3 separate regions of the Homo sapiens genome follow, and all the other regions are linked to region 1. Evidence: promoter capture Hi-C in 16 types of primary human blood cells and fetal thymus (Javierre and others, 2016). All regions are on one chromosome and are shown on one strand. Each heading gives the region's core, a stretch centred on a gene start or on the middle of the fragment in contact. The rest is flanking DNA. Distances are from core to core; before and after follow the strand shown.

Evidence for each region. Contacts are between HindIII fragments. The CHiCAGO score rates a contact against its expected background, and 5 or more counts as called.
Region 2: a fragment that was not itself captured here is called in contact with the fragment with the promoter of MVP in region 1 in 4 of 17 cell types (M0 macrophages, megakaryocytes, fetal thymus and 1 more); the score reaches 6.6 in M0 macrophages.
Region 3: a contact is called between a fragment that was not itself captured here and the fragment with the promoter of MVP in region 1, in 1 of 17 cell types (M0 macrophages). The highest score is 5.7, in M0 macrophages.

What each region holds. Positions count from the first base shown.
Region 1 is chr16:29,819,012-29,821,884 of GRCh38, reverse strand. It overlaps MVP (major vault protein), which reads right to left and starts at 1,423. Exons shown (of 15, transcript NM_005115.5): 1 at 1,375-1,423. It overlaps PAGR1 (PAXIP1 associated glutamate rich protein 1), which reads right to left. Exons shown (of 3, transcript NM_024516.4): 3 at 1-2,330. The coding sequence ends at 2,131. MVP-DT (MVP divergent transcript) reads left to right here and starts at 1,518. Exons shown (of 4, transcript NR_186424.1): 1 at 1,518-1,701; 2 at 2,284-2,345. RefSeq lists enhancers at 700-989, 452-1,018, 1,710-1,779. The HindIII fragment of the contact is 7,186 bases long and covers 1-2,873 here.
Region 2 is chr16:30,050,959-30,053,831 of GRCh38, reverse strand. It overlaps LOC112694756 (uncharaterized LOC112694756), which reads right to left and starts at 681. Exons shown (of 14, transcript NM_001365304.2): 1 at 615-681; 2 at 333-368. The coding sequence starts at 338. It also overlaps a transcript of TLCD3B not described here. RefSeq lists an enhancer at 1-278. The HindIII fragment of the contact is 1,085 bases long and covers 809-1,893 here.
Region 3 is chr16:29,959,026-29,961,898 of GRCh38, reverse strand. No RefSeq gene overlaps it. Among named protein-coding and RNA genes, the nearest start is that of TMEM219, 1.6 kb to the left of the region's middle. RefSeq lists an enhancer at 338-447. The HindIII fragment of the contact is 1,848 bases long and covers 567-2,414 here.

The DNA of each region.
Region 1 (2,873 bases), core at 174-2,673:
CTGGGTCTAAGTTTCCGGGAGAGAGCCTCTGGACCCTGTGTTCTAGGCAAACGCCCCTAAGTAACAGCTCCCACTTCAGATGAGCTTAATCTGTGCCAGGTAGTGTTAAGTGCCCTCAATTAACTCATGTTATCCTCACAAGAACCTGCAAGTTAAGAAATTTGCCCAAGAGCACACAGTTATCAAAGGACGGAGCCGGAAGTCCAACCTGGCTATAACTGTAGAGACCACAAACTAGGAGGCAGTGGCTTCTCAGGCAGAAACACAAAGATTCTAAGCCGAGAACAAGAACTAGAGGACCTGGGTGGGGCTGTGTACTGCCCAGATGGTGCTAATGGCAGTTCAAAGGTGAGTGTTTCCTGTAAGTTGGGCCAGCGCCCAGCCTCTGCTCCCCCAGAACCTGGGAGGGCAGCACCCAAGATAACCTGAGCACCCCGTTACCTTGGAGCCCTGAGGCTGTCTCTGGGCCACCCACTCAAGGTGGCCCCCCTACCTGCTCAAGGCTACATACAGAGGGCTGTCCTGCCCAAACAGCCACACCCGAGGGCCGACCCAGTGCTCTGTGTGCCAAGGGAGTTTCTGGCAGAGCCACCTGATACCCCACGTGACAGCTGGCCTCTCCCCCATCACCCAGGGGCTACCCAGGCAGAGAGCTGAGAACACAGGGGCCATCAGCCTCGCTATCACCTCCACCCCCAAGTGCTTGGCTCCCCAAGGGACAGCTCTAAAATCCCCAGAATCTCAGGCTGGTGGGTCCAGCTGAGCATCCTAGTTTTCACTTTCTCCTCCCAAAAAGGAAAGAACCTTGGTCACTAAATTCTACGCCTTCTGGAAATCACTCTGCTAATGACTTCCTGAATGATCGACTGAGACCAACAGCTGGCCCAGCCCTGCATGGAGGAGTAAGAAACCCTCATCTGTCAGAGTTAAGGGGCCTGAATGGGTACAGGTCACATTCTTGGAGCTCAAGGTGACAGGCCAGAGCCCAGGTCCCCAGGACAGTGCAGGTGAGTAGAGCAAGCACCGATCTAGGGCTAAGATGGGGTCTGAATGACCCTGTAAGGTTCCCCACCTGATTTCCCAGGTGGGACCCTGAAGTCAGAGAGAGGCCTGAGAGTTGCAGGGGGGTGGGGGACCGGTGTTGGTGTTAATCTGCCTTTACTTCAAAACCCAGAAGACTCCCAACTATTGGAAAGTGAAACCTCCAAAAGCAAAGCCACCACCCATCCTCCTTCCCCACTCTGATTCAGACATGTTTTCCCTGCCCCAGCAGAAGCAAGGCCCTTCAAAGCAAGACAGGACTAAAGAGAGCCTCAAGGGATACAAAGATCTGCCCCTGATTTGGGGTTTGGGGGGCTAGTACAATGTACTCACATCTAGAAGTGCAGGTAGCTGCAACAAACGCCTCAGATGGGGAACTCTCACCCTGCCTTGGGGATCACTTCCCGGCAGGGCAAGGCAGGCCAAGCCCAGGGGTGGGGCTTGGGAGTTAAAGGGCCCGTGTGCAGCTGGTTCTCATTTTATCCTCCGGGCTGCTTCTGCTGCAGCTGAAGGCACACTGCTCCCTGAGTGCTCATGGGTTTCTACCTTGGAGCCAGCTGGCTGCACTGGAGTGGGACTGGGAGGAGTTGGAGGGCCCGAGATGGGACAGGTGCTAACTGAGGGCACCTCTACCCATCTGGCTTTCATTTTCCAATCTGGGTGAGTACAATTCTGCCTCTCCCTTCAAGTGGGGCCTAACTGTTGAGCTACAGCTACAGCCCCTCCTTTTAAGAGATGATAGCTCTGCATCTTTTATTTCAGACTCAGAAAATTCAGTCCAGGTCTCTGAATAGGTGTTCAATAGAAAACACACACTCACACACTCTCTCTATATAGATGTTCAATAGAAAACACACACACTCTCTCTATAGGTGTTCAATAGAAAACACACACACACACTCTACAGGTGTTCAATAGAAAAAACACACACACACACTCACACTCTCTCTTCCTCTTTCCCGCAACGTGCTGTTTGGGAGCTTGAGGTTTCTCTCTTCTTCCCAAGTTTCTCAATGTCTGGGCTGGGGAAGGAGGGCCCAGGCTCCAGCAGGTACGGACACTGCACCCTAGAGGCAGGAGCAGTGGGAATCAGTATTTCCGCTGCCGAGGGAAGAGACTACTCCCGGAGGATCGGAGTGGGGGGCTGGCGGGGCTGGGGTCCTCCGAGTCCAGGCTGAAGAGGTCCCTCCCGGTACGAAGGATCTGCTCCTCCAGCTTCTTGTGTCTCTTCATGTCCGACAGCACCTTGTCCAGGCGGGCCTCCCGTTTCTGGCTCCGGGCTGAGCTTCCTGGAGAAGAGGAAGGTAAGATACATGGAAGGGATGGAGGTGGTGTACACCATACCTGCCTGGACCTCACTCATCACTTGGGGAGCTGGTTAAACATGCAGGTCCCCAGGCCTCTGTCTTGGAGGACCTGAGGTTCAGGGTTGGACCTCAGAGAGGGTGAGAAGCAAAGATCTTGATTGACAGGAAGGCACAGGTAATGTGAAGAACAGGGAGGAACATACTGGGCAGGGGAATGGCAAGGGTAGAGGCCCCAGGACAAGAACAGAGTTCTGTTCAAAGAAGAGTGCAGGCCGGGCATGGTGGTTCACGCTTGTAATGCCAGCACTTTGGGAGGCTGAGGTGGGCAACTCACGAGGTCAGGAGTTTGAGACCAGCCTGGCCAACACAAAAAATTAGCTGGGCGTGGTGGTGGGCGCCTGTAATCCCAGCTACTTGGGAGGCTGAGGCAGAAGAATCGCTTGAACCCGGGAGGTGGAGGTTGCAATGAGCCAAGATCGCACTACTGCACTCCAGCCTCGGTGACACAGCTACACTCCGTCTCCC
Region 2 (2,873 bases), core at 102-2,601, 230 kb before region 1:
CTCTCCCTCCCCCTCTTCCAAACACACGATAGCCCTAGCAGTTCCCCAAATGCTGCAGCCTCCCTCTCACCCCCAGACTGTTTCCTCTGCCGGAAATGCCTTTTCTCGTGGATTACTTAGTCAACTCCTTATCTTGCCAGGAATACCAGAAATGTGCCCTCCCGTGGGAAGTCCATTCCTGGACTCTTCCTGACAGCTCTCGTCCTGAGCTGGCAGGTTGTAGTCTCTGTTGGGTAGAAGCCCCCTCCCCAGTCCGTGCTGGAAGACAGGCCCATTCGGGGTTAGGAGAGGGCGCTGAGGGGGCCCAGAGAGGGGAAGGGGCCCGGACTTACGTCCATGGGGAAGGGCAGAGCCAGTCAGTCCGGGAGCTGCAGAAGGAAGGTTCTGGGTCTCAGAGGCTGAGAGGCACCGTTAGACCGGGGTGCCCACCCTCCTTCCCTTTCCTGTTTGGGGAAACTGAGGCCATGGCTGGGCCGGAGGGTGGAATTCGGGAAGGGGAATGGGGGGCGGGGGATCCGAGGCGGCGCCTTCCTCGCAGGCTCCAGCGCGCCCCAGGCCACTCCCCTCCTCAGTCCCCACACTCCGGGCTTCCCCAGTCGGTCAGCACCCATCACCTGCACCCTCGGGCCGCGGGCAATTCACGGATTCCGCGCCAAGCTAGGTCCAATCGTCCGAGGGACCGGCCCCGCCCAGAAGCCGTTCGCGGCATCCCGCTGTTGCCATGGTGACCAGAGCGGTGTTTGTACGGCGGCTGCCGAGGCCCAAACTCCCTCTTCCCGCCTCGCGCCTCCCTCTTCCCGCCTAAGCTTCAACTGTCACCGGCTCTGCGCCGCCGCGGCCCTCGGGGCTTTCTCGCGGGGAGCGAAGGGGAAGAGCGAATCCCGCCGCCGCCCGCCTGGGTCGGATCCTCATCAGATGCCGGACGTTGGAGGAGGCACCGGGTTCTGGGGCGCCACAGGAGGATTGAACCCCCAGGCTACACCCACCACTTGGATGTATCTCCGGCCAAGCCACTGAGCATCTGCAAAAGGGAGAAACGCCTGCCGCTCAGGGATATTGTAAACATCAATGCTACTTTTTATATTTTATTTATATTTATTTATTTATTTATTTATTTATTTATTTATTTATTTTTGAGACGGAGTCTCGCTCTGTCGCCCAGGCTGCAGTGCAGTGGCGCGATCTCGGCTCACTGCAACCTCCGCCTCCCGTGTTCAAGTGATTCACCTGCCTCAGCCTCCCGAGTAGCTGGGATTACAGGCGCGCACTACCACACCCGGCTAATTTTTGTATTTTTAGTAGAGACAGGGTTTCGCAATGTTGACCAGGCTGGTCTCGAACTCCTGACCTCAAGTGATGCGCCCGCCTCAGCTTCCCAAAGTGCTGGGATTATAGGCGTGAGCCACCGCGCCGGGCCCGGTTCTTTTTTACTGATTTATTTATTAATTGATTTATTTATTTTTTGGAGACAGATTTTCGCTCATCTCCCAGGCTGGAGTGCAATGGTGTGATCTTGGCTCACTACAACCTATGTCTCCTGGGTTCAAGCGATTCTCCCGCCTCAGCCTCCCGAGTAGCTGAGATTACAGGCGACTGCCACCACGCACACCTAATTTTTGTATTTTTAGTAGAGACGGGGTTTCACCATGTTGGCCAGGCTGGTCTCGAACTCCTAACCTCAGGCAATCCCGCCCGCCTTGGCCTCCCAAAGTGCTAGGATTACTGGCATGAGCCACTGTGCCCAGCCTTTTTTTCTGAATTTTTAGAGATGTGGTCTTGCTATGTTGTTAAGGCTGGTCTTGAACTCCTGGGCTCAAGCAGTCCTCCAGCCTCAGCCTCCCAGGTAGCTGGGATTACAGGCATAAGCCACCTTCAGTAGGATCTGCTGAAGCTTCCTGAACCAGTGTGTAGGGTCTCACATTTCCACAGCTTTGCAGTTGCTGATCCCTCTGCCTGGAACACCCTCTGTCTTCCCCTCAAACCTCTTCCTCATCCCTCAAGCACGTCCTCAGTTTTGCCTCTGTGAGGTCTCCCTGCCAACCTCAGGCAGAGGTGGCTGCTTTGGACTGTGAATTCCCACAGCATCCTACAGATACTGTTGTTCTCGCACTTCTCACAAGATACTTGAATTCCTCACTTCCATGTCTGGCTCCACAATTAGACTGCAAGTGTCTGGGGCCTGGTCTGAGTCATCTCCGTATCCTGAGCTCTAGTACTTGGCCTAGCCCTGGGAGCCTTGGTGAATACTCACTGATTCTTTTTCTTTCTTTCTTTCTTTTTTCTTTTCTTTTCTTTTTTTTTTTTTTTTTTGAAACGGAGTTTTGCTCTTGTCGCCCAGGCTGGAGTGCAATGGTGTGATCTCAGCTCACTGCAACCTCCGCCCTGGATTCAAGCAATTCTCCTGCCTCAGCTTCCAGAGTAGCTGGAAGTGCCACCATGCCCAGCTAATTTTGTATTTTTAGTAGAGACGGGGTTTGTCCATGTTGGTCAGGCTGGTCTCGAACTCCCGACCTTAGGTGTTCTGCCCGCCTTGGCCTCCCAAAGTGCTGGGATTACAGGTGTGAGCCACTGCGCCTGGCCTGTTTTTTTCTTTTAATAAAGTAGACATGGGGTCTCACTATGTTGGCCAGGCTAGTCTCCAACTCCTGCCTCAAATGATCCTCCCACCTCGGCCTCCCAGGTTGCTGGTATTACAGGCCAGAGCCACTGCACTCAGCCAATACTCACTGATTCTATGAATGAATTGAAACCAAACACCATCCACGAATGAAGCATTGTTTTCCACACGTCCTAATTTCCTTGGCTTTCAAGGCACTCAGACCTCCCCGTTTCATTCCTAACCTTTTTAGATCACACACACACAGACACTTGCA
Region 3 (2,873 bases), core at 241-2,740, 140 kb before region 1:
GTGGGAGGGGTGGAAACGGGAGCGAGGCCAGGGAGCAAGTGCGAGAAACGTCGCAGAACCCGTAGGCTCCCTCCAGAGAGACTGGCGAGAACTGCCCCAGAAGCTTGTCGCGGGCATTTTTGGGCTGTGCGTCCCCTACCCGCGCCAATAGCACAGACCAGCCGCGCCCGGGTTCCCGGTGAGGACTCGGCATCCGCTCAGAGTTGCAGGGCTGCCACTTGAGGACTCTGTCCACTGGGGCTGGGAGTGGTGTTTTGGACTCCGCTCTTCTGTGCACCCCGATCTGCACCTTTCTCGTGGACCCTGACTTTTAGTGACTCCTTAATGTATAGGATGCTGGAGCTGAAGAGTTGCTCAGTAGAGAGCATCTCAGTTCACTTCTGCCCAAGTTTTGGAGGTGAGAACATCTGACTGGAGGTAGCATGACACATGGAGCCAGGAACTTTGGGTTCAAATCCTGACTGTCCGTACCCTCGCATAAGCCATAGCCGCGCTCTCAGGGGACTAAGCTTACCCCTCTACTAAAGAGGATCATCCTATCTATCTCACCGGTTGGATCAGAAGCTTAAAGGGTAAAATGTGGGAAAACATGGGCCCAGTGCCCACTAAGCACACAGGACAGATGCTACTTGAAACGGAATCTATTTAATTCGACTGTGGCTTCCTTAAGGCAGAGGCCATGTCGTTTGTATCAACAGCCACAAAAGTTTGTGGCACAAAACCTTCGCATATACAAATGATTTTTTTTTTTTTTGAGACGGGGTCTCAGTCTGTCGCCAGGCTGGAGTGTAGTGGCGCGATCTCGACTCACTGCAACCTCCGCCTCCCGGATTCAAGCTATTCTTCTGCCTCAGCCTTCCGAGTAGCTGGGACTACAGGCGCACGCCACCACGCCCAGCTAATTTTTGTATTTTTAGTAGAGACGAGGTTTCACCATGTTGGCCGGGATGGTCTTGATCTCTTGACTTCGTGGTCTGCCCGCATCGGCCCCCCAAAGTGCTGGGATTACAAGCGTGAACCACCACACCCGGCCGATTTTTTTTTTTTTTTTTTTTTTTTTTTGACAGAGCCTTGCTCTGTCATCGCCCAGGCTGGAGTTCAGTGGCACAATCAAAGCTCGCTGCAGTCTGGACGTCTTGGGCTCAAGAGATCCTCCCGCCTTAGCCTCCTGGGTAGTTGAGACAGCCGGTAGTCACACGCCACCCACCATGCCCAGCTAACTTTTGCATTGTGTGTAGAGACGGGGTTTTGCCATTTGCCATGTTGCCCAGGCATGTCTCGAACTCCTGACCTCAAGCAGTCCTCTCGCCTCGGCCTCCCAAAGTGCTGGGATTACAGGCGTGAGCCACTGTGCCCTGACTAGTCAAATGATTTTTGACAAGGGTGCTGTGGGCGTTCAGTAGAGAAAAGAGTCTTTTCTGTGCATCGAAGGACACAACAGGCTGGGCACGGTGGCTCAAGCCTGTAATCCTAGCACTTTGGGAGGCCGAGGCGGGTGGATCACCTGAGGTCAGGAGTTTGAGACCAGCCTGGCCAACATGGTGAAACCCCATCTCTACTAAAAGTACAAAATTAGCCAGGCATGGTGCCGGGCGCCTATAATCCCAGCTACTCCGGAGGCTAAGGCTGGAGAATCGCTTGAACCTGGGGAGTGGAGGTTGCAGTGAGCTGAGATTGCACCACTTCACTCCAGCCTGGGCAAAAGATCAAAACTCTGCCCCACAAAAAACAAAAACAAAAAAAGGAAAGGACAGTGAAAAGGCAACCAACAGAATGAGAGGAAATATCAAATCATATATCTTATAAGGGGTTAATATCTATAATATATAAAGAACTCCTACAACTCAACAACAGCCCAATCTCAGCTCACCTCAACCTCTGCCTCTCAGGCTCAAGGGATTCTCCTGCCTCAGCCTCCCGAGTAACTGAGATTACAGGCACACGCCACTATCACCTGACTAATTTTTGTACTTATTAGTAGAGACAGGGTTTCACCATATTGGCCAGGCTGATCTCAAACTCCTGACCTCAAATGATCCACCCGCCTTGGCCTCCCAAAGTACTAGGATTATAGGCGTGAGCCACCGCGCCCGGCCTAATTTTTTGTATTTTTAGTAGAGATGGGGTTTCATCATGTTGGCCAGGCTGGTCTCAAATTCCTGACCTCAGGTGATCCACCCGCCTCAGACTCACGAAGTGCTGGGATTACAGGTGTGAACCACCGCACCAGCCAAGTATACCAACATTTTGACTTAATCCACTCAACAAGCCCTCAAAGTGGATGTTATTCTGGAAAGCTGGCCCTTAGTTTAAGTCAGGGGTCCCCAACCCCTGGGCCGTGGGGCCAGTACCAGTCCGTGACGTGTTAGGAACTGAGCCGCACAGCAGGAAGTGAATGGCTGGTGAGAGAAGCTTCATCTGTATTTACAGCTACTCCCCATTGCCTGCATTACCGCCTCAGCTCTGCTTCCTGTCAGATCAGTAGCGGCATTAGATTATCATAGGAGCATGAATCCTATTGTGAACTGCGCATGCGAGGGATCTAGGTTGCTCCTTATGAGAATCTAATGCCTGATGATCTCTCACTGTCTCCCATCAACATCAGATGGGACTATCTAGTTGCAGGAAAACAAACTCAGGGATCCCACTGATTCTACTTTATGATGAGTTGTATAATTATTTTATTATACCTTATAATGTAATAATAATAGAAATAAAGTGCAAAATAAATGTAATGTGCTTGAATCATCCCGAAACCATTCCTCCCCTGGTGGAAAAATTGTCTTCCATGAAACTGGTCCCCAGTGCCAAAAAGGTTGGGGACTGCTGGTTTAATTTAACCAAGGTCATACATATATTAGGTGGCAGAAGTT